3 separate regions of the Homo sapiens genome follow, and all the other regions are linked to region 1. Evidence: promoter capture Hi-C in 16 types of primary human blood cells and fetal thymus (Javierre and others, 2016). All regions are on one chromosome and are shown on one strand. Each heading gives the region's core, a stretch centred on a gene start or on the middle of the fragment in contact. The rest is flanking DNA. Distances are from core to core; before and after follow the strand shown.

Evidence for each region. Contacts are between HindIII fragments. The CHiCAGO score rates a contact against its expected background, and 5 or more counts as called.
Region 2: a contact is called between a fragment that was not itself captured here and the fragment with the promoter of ZSWIM2 in region 1, in 5 of 17 cell types (monocytes, M2 macrophages, M0 macrophages and 2 more). The highest score is 5.5, in monocytes.
Region 3: a contact is called between a fragment that was not itself captured here and the fragment with the promoter of ZSWIM2 in region 1, in 1 of 17 cell types (monocytes). The highest score is 5.7, in monocytes.

What each region holds. Positions count from the first base shown.
Region 1 is chr2:186,847,057-186,851,141 of GRCh38, forward strand. ZSWIM2 (zinc finger SWIM-type containing 2) reads right to left here and starts at 2,114. Exons shown (of 9, transcript NM_182521.3): 1 at 1,910-2,114; 2 at 663-739. The coding sequence starts at 2,074. The HindIII fragment of the contact is 8,021 bases long and covers 1-4,085 here.
Region 2 is chr2:187,392,166-187,396,250 of GRCh38, forward strand. The region is part of intron 1 of CALCRL (calcitonin receptor like receptor); the gene reads right to left. All of the region lies in intron 2 of CALCRL-AS1 (CALCRL and TFPI antisense RNA 1), which reads left to right. Among named protein-coding and RNA genes, the nearest start is that of CALCRL, 54 kb to the right of the region's middle. The HindIII fragment of the contact is 2,440 bases long and covers 822-3,261 here.
Region 3 is chr2:187,361,301-187,365,385 of GRCh38, forward strand. CALCRL (calcitonin receptor like receptor) reads right to left here. Exons shown (of 15, transcript NM_005795.6): 9 at 2,076-2,202. All of the region lies in intron 2 of CALCRL-AS1 (CALCRL and TFPI antisense RNA 1), which reads left to right. Among named protein-coding and RNA genes, the nearest start is that of CALCRL, 85 kb to the right of the region's middle. The HindIII fragment of the contact is 4,390 bases long and covers 146-4,085 here.

The DNA.
Region 1 (4,085 bases), core at 864-3,363:
AATCACTTATTGGGTACAATGTTCACTATTGGGGTGATTAGTACACTATAAGTCCAGACTTCACCACTATGCAATATATGCATGTAAGAAACCTGAACTTTTTATAAAAAATAAATAACCTGAACTATTTATAAAAATACATGAAAATTTAAAGTGATTCATAGTCAAATGTTAACTGAAAAGGAAAATATTTTGAAACTTGACTGCCATAGGCCAATACGGAAAAGGTGAACACTTTCAACCTATGTATACATGTAGAAAATGGAACATTTGATATTCAAGAAAACGTGATTTTGGAAACACAATTTGTGGAAGCACAGCAATATCTCAAATGAACCATATAATTATCAGCAGTGATGGGATCAGGATTTTTCCCCCGTTTTATAGTTAGATTTCACATTTGTACATGAGAATCTAAAATTGATTTTTTCTATTTAAAAGCATTAACATTATAAAATGGTTCTCAATTTAAATGTTATTCAATTTTCAGAATAAAATGAAATACTGAAAAATTTATTGGTAAGCTATGACCATTTTAACTTTATATTCCCCAAACACCAAATTTCTTTAATTTTGTTGTTATTGAAACCATGACAAAGGCAAAATATTTAACACACCAAGATGTTCCTTCATGGAAGATCTTCATTTGAAAAGTCACTTACCAGCAGATATGCTTACAAAGTTCCCCTCCTTTCGGAAATGTGGAACAGTTACAAACGTGAGGATTTCCTAGAAAAACCTTTAAAGGAAAAATGCATACTTAAAAAGACCAGTAAAATTTGAGAGTTAGAGCAAAACTGAGTTAATAAAAGAGATTTGAAGAGGTAATTTAGTTTAGGTGATTCAAAAAGGTTGAATAGATTCTACTGGAGAATCTTAATTCTTGATACTAGTCTCTAGGCTTCATTATTTATCTTTGTTAGCAAATTAACAAATTAGGATGGTTTTAAAGTGACCTGCCCTTAGGCAGGTGAAAATAAATCTAATTCCCAAAGTCAGAGAAGAAAAAAAGCAAATATCAACCCATAAATTCCTCACAGTAAGGAAATTCTACTTTGGGGTGGAGCTAAGCACCTTTTGTAAGGTAGCTCATTTTGGATTTTTGTTTGGTGCATTTGAGTCGGTGAATTTATTTAATTTTATTCAAGAGGACAAAATTTATTCACCAAGACTAGTTTGGCTAAAACTATTAAATACAGTAAGTATTGAAGCAACAAAGTAAAAAAAGATGCTTTAAATAAGCACAGACTAGTAAATTGCATTCAATTCTTAAACTTCACGGCACTAACGTAAAATTTTGTAAGTCAACTCCTAGGAGGTAGTGCAGTGGCTAATTTTTGAGTGGTTAAGGATGGGATATGCAATTATGAAATATCTGTGGTCTTTCAGTAAACTTGAATTTTTATTCATTAATATCTTTCCAAGGTATTGCCATTTAAACCATCCTTTAATAGGGCCTTCATACAGTTTCAGAGTGAGCAAAGAGTAAAGGGAAACCTATTTATTTATTTAGAAAATATTTACAGTATGCTAGCAGATTGTAGAATTTTCATTTCGTTTGATTTACAGGACTAAGGACCACTAACAACAGATCCAAGAACACATGTAATGCCAACCAGGTATTCATACGCCTCTGACATTTTCAAGCCTAAAGATCAAGAGCCATCATCTTTTACAAGAGTTGCAGTTTGGTCTTAACCTCCAAAAAAGAAACTTCTAATAAATACTATTTCCTTCTGTAATTTCACGTATTTTAGAGTCTGGAACACTCGTGGGAAGGCGCTTTCGGGGGTGAGGCAGCAAGTATCCGCAGAGATTGTGATGGTGGCTACGCACATTGGGTATGCCAGTGGGGGAACCTGGTGGGCGGGGATGATGGCCAACTGGGGGCGGTAGGGGCGGTAGTTACTCGGAAATCCATGTATTCCGGCTCCTCCTCCCTCAGCAGGAAGCCAGTGGGGCCCATCTCTCGTAGGAGGTAGATGCTGCTACTCAGCGCCTGGTCTTGGTGCCAGCTGAGCCTCTCGCTCAAGTGTCTTCGCCTTTCAGAGGCCTTATAGCCTCGGCGAAGCATGCTGGGTGCGGGCGGAGGCGGCCCCTCTGCTCGGCTCACTGAGGCGCCAGCCGGTCTCCAAGACGACGGCGTGCAGGCTGGTTGCCTTGGTGACGGTGGTTGGGCTCGGGGTGTCCCGGTGTGCCCTGCGCCGAAGAAGAGCGGGCGACAAAGGTGCGGGATGGCATGGATTCTGCAACTCTCCCCAGCCTCCACTGCGTTTCGAAGCGACGCCCTTGACTGAGGAGTGTTTTTAATAATCATCTGGCCGACTTGGAAGCTGGAGGCCGAAGGCATAGCTGTCAATTTTCTTGCGTTCCTTCTGCTTCCTCGGGGCAGAGATGGTGAAATCTACTTGTTAGGACAGTTGCAAACCCGATTGCAGTCTGGGCTCTGGATGCTGAAATTATCCTGTGATGATTCATCATCTTTAACAGAAAGCCGAGGTTACAGAGCCCAGAGTGATTTTTGACGTTCCACAATATTCCACGAACATTTTCTGATTGCTCACTATATGCATAGATTGACTGAGTCTCTGGGGGAAAGATGTAGAAGACAGGAGTTCTAAACCCTAGGAAGTGCATCACCGGTAGTGGCGCCGGCTGTAGTCCCAGCTACTTGGGAGGAAACCAGATCCTTAAGTCATTTCTCTCTGCCTCTCTCTCTCTCTCTCTCTCTCTCTCTCTCTCTCTCTGTGTGTGTGTGTGTGTGTGTGTGTGTTGGAGGGGAAATGGTCTTCCAAGTGAGGGAACATTTTTTAATTGCATGTTTGGGTAGGGGTGGGTGTTGGGGATGGTACAGCCAGAATGGTGGATGGTGGTACGTCCTGAATGGTGGCACAGAATCCATTGACTATGGGTACATGAAACTTACAAATCTGTATACTAAGGAATAAGAGTTTCAAGGTATGCAATGTTTGTACCTCCAATAATTTAAATTGTCTCTGAGGTTTGTTTACCACATTTTAGGGGGAAAACTGTAATAAAGTATGGGTCAACATTTTGAGTCATAATTACTGAAAAAAGAAGCCACATTACTAGAATCTCTATAGGAAATTAAAAGCAGGAGATAGCACTACTTGGAGGTCCAGTAACCTTTGCCTTGGTGGCCAAAGATAGAGCATATTTGTCCTATTTTATCATGGGCAGAAATCATAACTAGATTATGTCAACAGCAGGAGAGTTCTCAGAAAATGGCAAGGGCAAAAGATGAAAGAAGATGATGGTAATGGCAGCTTTCACAGGTGAGACACCTGGATAAACATCATCCAACCCTTAAAGTCTTAGGTCTAAGGTCTAAGGTTTTAATTTACTAAATTTTATTTTTATTCTCCTATTCTGACTAATAACAACTCACATTCATACTACCATACTCCCAACTTTAGAATCAATTTAATGGTACTAGATGTTAAAGAAATACATTATAACATTAGAAAAAAACTCACATATCAAGAGCAAAAGAAATTATAAATTGGATTAAATTATTTTACATATTGATATGTATAATTTTAAAAACTCAATAAATTAATGACTCCATATTTGCTATATAATATGATGAGTTGGGCTTCAGAGTGAGGACATTTTATTCAACCATCAATTTTTTTTCTCTCTCTCTTTATATACATGTGTGTACATATAAAATAAAGTTATAAAATTTTTAAAAGCAAACAGCAAAAATTGTTAAAGCTGTTGTGTTTTAGTTATAGCTAGTGATACTTGTTTACTTGCTCCATGTATAAGTGATAAACATTTTCAAAGGGTCGCATGTTTAAGACACAATAGTCATTATATCAATGGAATATAGGTTCATAAATTCCATTTTGGGGGATGGTAAAAATAATGGTGTTTATGCTTTCATAGAAGTTAAAAAGTGAAAGCACAGATTGCTAGACAGAACTTCATTCTATTTGTAAGATATTTGTTTTGATATCTGTCAGTTATGACTTTAAAAACATTTTTATAGTCAGGTGACTATCCCATATGTTTGCTTCATCTCTTAAGAGTGTGTGATAGGGGTAATATTTTGAAAATAT
Region 2 (4,085 bases), core at 792-3,291, 550 kb after region 1:
TTATTTTTCATTGAGTCACCTAGCCCTAATATTGAAAGTGTATGTTCACTCCAACATTAAGAAAAATAATAACCTAATCTTTTGTTTCTGTACTTTTGAAATAACTTCGATTTTTACAGGCTCTAAACCATACTCTGTTTTTCATTTATGTATCCATTCACTAAAAGTTGGCTAACAGAAGTACTTTCTACACATACTTAATTTGCCATAAGGTTCACCCACCTGAACCTTTGTGTGAGCAAAGTTGAGCTATGTCCTATATATTATATTACATGCTTTCCCTTACTTATGGCATATTAAACAAGCTACATATCTCTTGAATCAAAACAAGGAATAAACACTCTACTCCAATCGCAGAGTTCCACACCTGCATGGCAAATGGAAACTTATTTCAATCATTCTACACAATCTAAAAAATGTCAAAGTTCAAGAGCCTGGTTAACTTATTTTTCTCACTGCTTATTTTTGGAAAACCTAAGTCTTTGTGCTAGAATTGTTGTTGCAAGTTAATATCTTTACTTCCAATAGAGTCTTTTTATTATTTATTATTATTTTTTTAGAGACAGGATGTCACTCTGCCCCAGCTGAAGTGCAGTGGTACAATCATAGCTCACTGGTGCCTTGAACTCCTAGTCTCAAGTAATCCTCTCACTTTGGTTCCCCGAATTGTTGGGATTACAGGCTTGAGCTCCTGCACCTGGCCTCCAATAAAGTATGAAAAAGAAATTCCAGTGTAAGGTTTTAGTGCCCACTTCAACCTAGCTTGGAATGTCACTCACACTTTTAATATATAAAGCAGTTAGTGAAACAAAACATAAAGAAGCTTTACTTTCCTGAAGACATGTTACGGATATAAGATTATAACTCAAGCTGTATGTCCTCTTTAGGATGTCATTTGAGTCATGCATTATTTTTTAAGCTATTGAGTGAGCAGGTGCCAAATCACTGATGTAGTAAACACCATGTCCTCAAAGTGTGAGGTTGTGGGCCACCTGCATCAGAATCACCCCCAAAACTTGGTGAAAATGTTAAAATGGCCAGGCCCCACAAAGGACGCTCTGGAACAGAACCTTTTGGAGAAGAATTTAGGAACCTGCATGTTTAGTAAGCACCCAAGTAAATTCTTGGCCTGTTATACTTGGGGAAGCACAATATAAATACTTCATCCTCACTGGGACATGCCGAAACCTGAACACATTTGTATTTCACTGTTTCTAGTTACTAGCCAGACTATTTTAAAAGCAACTATAAAGTATAAATCAAGCAAAATATTCTGCAGTGTTCCCAGGCATTATTAATGTCACAGAACTCCCAAAGCAAGTTATTCAAATATCTATTTTAAAACATACCATGTAATCTTATAATTATTTCTTTATGTGTCTCTGCCATGAGATTGTGAGCACAGTAAGAATAGGGCAGGCAGCATATTCATCTCCGGGGCTACACACCCTAACAAAGTGATCACATAAAGAGGGTATACAGAAAGTGTTTTTAAAGTAGATTGCTTATGAAATAAATTTAATCAAGTTGAAGAAACCTGATGTTTTTAGTTATTCCTAACCCTTTCAAGCCTATTATAATTTTCTGAGTCATAAAAAAAGATCATTGCCTCGATTCTACTCCAAAAATTTCTGATTCAGGTCATCTTGCTTGGGGACCAGGAACAAGCATTTTTTCAAGTTTCCCAGGTGATTTTAATATATAGCTAGGGTTGAGGATACCTGGAATAGATAGAAGATTCATGTGGTAGGCAGAATGATAGGCATACAAAACTTTCCATGCCCTATTCACCAGAATCTTTGATTACAGCTATGATTTAGGTTATGGATCTTAAAATAGAATGATTGACCTAGGTTATCTTGAGTTATCCAGGTTAGTTGCAAATAATAAATTGAGCTCTTAAAAGAAGAAAAGAAAGGGTGAAGGGTCAAAGAGATGCAGCACAAGGGGAAGCAGAAAAGATGAAAGCCTGAGAAAGAGTTGATTCCTTGTTGCTGACTCTGCTGTGGAGCCCACATGCAAGGACTAGAAAGTGGCCTCAAGCCAGCAAGGAAATGGGGACTTCAGTCCTACAACCACAAGGAATTGAATTCTGCCAACAACCTGAATGAGTATGGAGGCAGGTTCTCCCCCAGAGTCTACAAAAGGGAATGCAGCCCTGCCATTACTTTTATTTTGACCATGTAACACTTGAAACAAAGAAACAAGCCAAGGCAACAGAACTGACCAATAGAACTGTGAGATAGATAGTAAATAAATGTTGTTTTAAGTTACTAAATTTATGGTCATTTGGTACAGCTAGGATAGAAAACTAATAAAAATCCTTACCTGACAAAAATTACATTTTTTTCCATCAAACCAAAGTAGTAACTCTGCTTCCCAACTAGCCAGTCATTCCTCTTAACCTTAACAATACATTCATCCTCCTGCAAGACAATCCCATTAGCTAGAAGTGTTTCTTCTAAGCTGCTTCTAAATTGCTGTGTAATTTTAAGAAAATCAACTCAACTATTTTCTGCTTGGTTTACTCAACTAGATAATGAGTATAAAACTTGATCGTTAATTGAGCTTCCTGTTTTCTGTTGCATACTTATTAGAAGACACACACTAAAGTCAAAGAAACATATCTTTAATGCCAGTTCTTATACACTTAAACTCTCTCAACCGATTTTCTAACCTGAAAATTTGCATAAAAGTAGTGGCTGTTTTTAGAAGGTTAATGTGACCAGTAAATGAGATAATGCTAATCAATGCCTGGCTAAATCAATGTTGCCTATAACTTTTATCATAGCTCACCTTGTCGGATTATTTTAAGTGTTAAATTACATGCTAGATATAAAAAACTTGCTTAATAATAAATACACAATAAGCATTAGCTATTGCTATTTTCTGTATCCCTCTATAATTCTGTTAGTCATGGCAGTAATCATGTTGACTGAACAAACCAGGCAAATCCAGCATGCAAATTGTGACTTGGCCAAAGTCACAAAGATGCTTAGGTCTGACTCCAAGCTCAGAACTCAGGTTTTCTGACCTTAAATTTCTACCCTTTGCCCTGTATCATACTGACTCGGACAATGGAGTTGTTTATTTGCATAAAGTGAAGGACACATTTCTATTTTGCTTATTCAGTTATTTTGCTTAACCACCAGTTTTCTCATTACATGTCACTTGTACTCATCAAACACATTTATACTTTTTCCCAACAATTTCTTCTTTTCATTCCTCTTCTTAGCAATGTCATATTCGATTCTTTTACAAAGCTTACATTAATAAATGGCTTGACAACTCATACTTGCCATTCTGGCAAGGTCCCAAAATAAAAACACATGTACTGTCTCGTTTTCTAGCACTTTAAAAAATGCGTTTTAAATGAAGAAAACTTCTTCTAGAAATTAAATTTGTTACCTTACCCTATTTATTGAGCATCTACTTTTACCTAGTTTGGTAGGGTGAAGGTGGTGAGATATGTTAAGATTTCTGCCCTCAATAAAAGTATTTATCAAGTTGAAGAACAGTATTCTACTGCTTTTGAGGCTTACTTCATTGATTTCAAACACTCTCCATGGAACTCATTCATGAGGTTCTAGCGAGGGATGATTTTATCAACATTTAAAACAGGAAGTTAGTGTCTTCCTCAGTCCCATCTCTGTCATTCATTGAACCTGGGCAAATTCCATGCCTTCCCAGGTGTTTCCTACTCATCAAACAAAGCATTAGGGTAAAAGGATTAAGCCTTGGGTAAGAGTTCAAAATTTATATGAAAAGAAAAAAATGATTGTTATACAGAAACAGTTTTTACTCCTAGTAACCTAAAGCCAAAATAGCCTTAAAACCAAATCTCTCCTGACACTGTTTGTTGTTGTTGTTGTTGTTGTTGTTGTTGTTTTTCCTGTGGCTCAGGAAGACTTTGTGTATGTCTCCTACTACCTAATAGCTCACGGGAAAAAGTGGACCATTTGGCTAATTTTTCTCTCATTACATGAGAATTCAGGGAAAACATATCTAGGCCAAAAAAAATAAATAAATAAAGAAAAAAATCACTTATCTTGCTCTCACCTCTTCATATACTGCCTCTTTTGAGC
Region 3 (4,085 bases), core at 1,091-3,590, 510 kb after region 1:
TTATGGTTTCCCTTCCATTTTTCCTGAGGTCTCCATTTTTGCTTCTCTACTTTTAAACAGGCAGGAAGAGAGACATTCAAATTACAGTAAAGAAAACACAAAAGAGTAAGAGTGAGTTTACTCTTAAACAGGAGAATACAATTAAAGCTTTCCCAAAAATACATGACCTGTTACTCCTATTGGCTCCAGTTTCTAGTCTGAAAATCAATAAAAGTTTAGTGGCAATTATCATTATTTTTGAAATAGTTTTTTTAACCAAAAATAAAATTGAAAAGAAAATGCACTGGATTGTTAATATTGGGTCATCACAGAATAGTAATAATGGCATCTGCATAGGAGTCAGCCTAAAAATACTTTTACATATATTGTTTTATTTAATTCTTAACGGTAGTCCTATGAGGTGTACATTATCATAGGCATATATTTTATAGATAAAAAAACTTAGTACCAGAGAAGTTAAATGATTTGCTAATATTTATACATCAATCAAATCTACAACCTGAACATTCCAATTTTGTTTTCATTATATACGATGCCTCCTAACTAAAGGATATTTGTAAAACCTATTTATTCATTAAATGTATCTGCAGAATACGTAACATTAAATTTTAAATAATGTACCTGTATGTAAAACACAGCATTATATTAAAGTTCACTCAAAGGTGAAAATGAGATAGTCTACTATATGGAGAGAAATCATAAATTTCAGCTTCAACTTTTTATCTAAAGAGTTTTTAAGTATTTATATTTAATTCGGCTTCTAATTCTTGATTTCATTAAAAAAGTTAATCGATAAACCATTACAATAAAAAAGAATTAAGAGCATACTGCAGAAAAATATTTCTATGCAGGGCATTAGTAACAGAGACAAAACAAAAATATATGACAATTTATAATGTGTTTATTAAACACATCTTTGCGTACAAATATGAGATTTAGAATCTCATGCTCTGCAGCTTCAAGACAAAACTCTGAATCTCCTTGTCTTACAGAAATTCACTCTAAAATGGCAGGACATTAGCCAGATTTTTATGTTGCTAATTATACCCCAGTGTGTTTTCTAATCCAATGACTTTAGAGTGGAACATATACAAGATTAAGCAATCTGGATGCACAGGTGCAAACAATGCAGGGACTTTTAGAATTTTGAAAATTACTCTAAAAACACACATAAAACACACATGAGACTGTTTATTGACCCACTTGGTAAAAATTCTTTCCCTTCCTGATTTCAGTCACTAGATAATTTTTTCTTTTAAAAAACACTTTATATAGACACACACACACACAAAATATAGTAAATATCCCATAAACATTATAAAAGCAGATAATTTTTAAAATTTGAATGTATGTTTATGTATGCAGATATTTTAATTTAAACATTTTACATATGCATATAGCTTACACAAAATATTTACATTTAGATAAGTAAATTTTAAACTGTTTGAAAAATATGGCCTGTAAGGCAACAATTTATAAATATTTATTGAGACTGAACACTGTAGTTTTTAAAACATTATGCTATGAAGTTTAATCTTATGTAGGATATGTACAATTCATTCTTTTCCTGGTTTTATTGACTTTTTAAAGTCAGCCTGATACAAAAAATATAATTTATTTAAATTTTCCATGTGCGTGTACTATTTTTCGAATTACGCAGAGTTCATTGCTTTGAGTTTTTCATTTGGATTGAATAAATATTATGTAGTGATAAACTATTATGTGCCATAGCAAGAGGACTCTACAGCTATAAAATGAAGTGAAGATATGTGTACATGTATAAATAATTGAAGCAAAGAAATTATTACACTTTTTTATGTTCACTCTGTATCTTGGGGAATACTGAGAATACTCTGAGGGAATACTCTGTAGAGTATATGTAGCTATATTCCAATGTAGAAAGGTAAATATTTCTCAATATTCCCCAAGATATAAAGACTTGAAAATATATATATATGTCAGACTTGAAAATATACATATATGTGTACTTAATTATACACATTATGCATATATCAGCCATGTTCCCCCTTTCCCATTAGGCCCTTGAACCAAGGGCACAATCTTGGTTTACTTACAGGATTTGTGGCTACTAAGGCCTGGTTGTTGGCCACTGCAGTGAGGTGAATGATTGTTACAACAGAGTTACAAACAAATGAGAAGAACAGATTTTTGTGTAAGGTAATCCTTTGGCAACTTAGGCTCCTAAAAAGCAAGAAAAACAAGTGTGTTGACATCATGAAATGTTTTTTTATTAATCATTATTCAAATAAGATACATTCCCAATTCATAGCAGCTGATCCACTTTTGAAACAATTATTTTTTCTCCCTAAGATCCACTCATTACAAAAATCTTAATTAGGGAAAACCTGTAAGTGCTTAAAACCTAGAGACAAATGAGTTGCTCCAGAAGAGGTAGATATACATAGGGATAGAAAATTTGCCTGTACAAGTCCTCTACATGACTTTCTCTATTAATTTCTGAACATAATTAATAGTTTAATTCATTTTGCAAACATTGGGATTCAGTTAAGTTAGATAATTGATCAAAACTCCTGCAGCTAATTAATTTGAACACTTTGTATTTGCTGTCAGATTCTCATGTGGATAACTTTTTTCATTACACCATATATATTGTTCTGTTTAAATAAAACTGTGTGTTTTGTTGTGATGGTGGTGATTACACAGACCGATCTGGAAAAAATAACAAAGTACTCAGAATAGATGAATTGATAAAAATGTAAATTTAGCAACCAATGAGATTTGCACAGCTTTACTGAATTTTTCTAATTGGTGCAGCCATATATAAGGTAAAAATAGTACCACCTTTTACTAGAGTTCCTCTTGTATAAAACAAAAGAGAGTTCACTGTGTGGAGTTCACATAGAAGTAGATTTCAAGAAAAAGTGTCACTAATGATAACTGATGTCACTCTTAGATTGAATCCACCTCCACTCTAAGAAGATTGTGCATATATGACTGCCTGCCCGTGTTCAAGCGCTACTTCCTTTATAATGCATTTACTCAAAGGCTTATTATGGATAAAGTTTTAAAATAGTAGTATGGGATCCACTTGAACCTGAATACTTAATGTCAAGTGTGAACTCATATGAAGGAAGACCTGAGGAATTATTTCACTACAGAGGCAAAAAATTTCATGATGTGTGTGTGTGTTTTTTTTTTAAATATGCTATTAATATGGTCAACCTATATAATCCACCATATATAATTCAAGCCAAAGGCTTCTATTTTGGAAACTTTAAGGAGATCTTTACCTAATTTTATCACTAAATCTCTTTATCTTAAATAGACTGTGTGCCCAGGATATTGGAATTAGGGTGGGATGCCACGGTTTTCTATATTTAAAAATTCAGTTTAGAGTATATTGCCTCTGAAATTACCTTTCTTCCAGCCACAGGTCTGTGATTCTATATATAGCTCTAGTAATTAAAGAGCCTGGAGGCATATTTGATCCAAATCAATATTATAAATTGTCAATATATTCCTTCTACAAGACTTCTATGAAGGGATTCATGGGCAAGATGGCTCTTGGAATGATTGCTGAGTGTGTGTAAGACATTCATATGCCAACAAATAAGTGAAATCCAGCTGGAATCCATCAAAATAGAAACAACTGGAACCAGCTAGTATTTTCATATTAAAGAGTGGTTTACTTTGGCTTGACTTTGTAGTGTATAGGAGTAGTGACGCAGACAGTAATCAGGGCTTATCTACAGGTTATTGATTATATTCTATAGAAAAAAAGAATCTTTGAAACTTTTGAACAAAGGAGTGGCATGATTCCTGCTATTACTTAGAGAAATTCAACACTAAGAGAAAGACAATCGTATTTTTGATAAAATGCCACAGCAGTGACATAATTACTTTCTGTTCATTGAGCATGAAGAGAGTTAATGAATATCAGAAAAAGTCTAGTAAATAATGTTCTTTTCAAATCAGTTATATTATGTGTGGTTTATTTCTGTCATTCATCAGTGTTCCATTATGAAAGTTATAGACATATAACATTTGTTCATATGGTCTTATTTTAAAATGCCTGCTTTGAGCTTACCCCATGTCTATTGAGT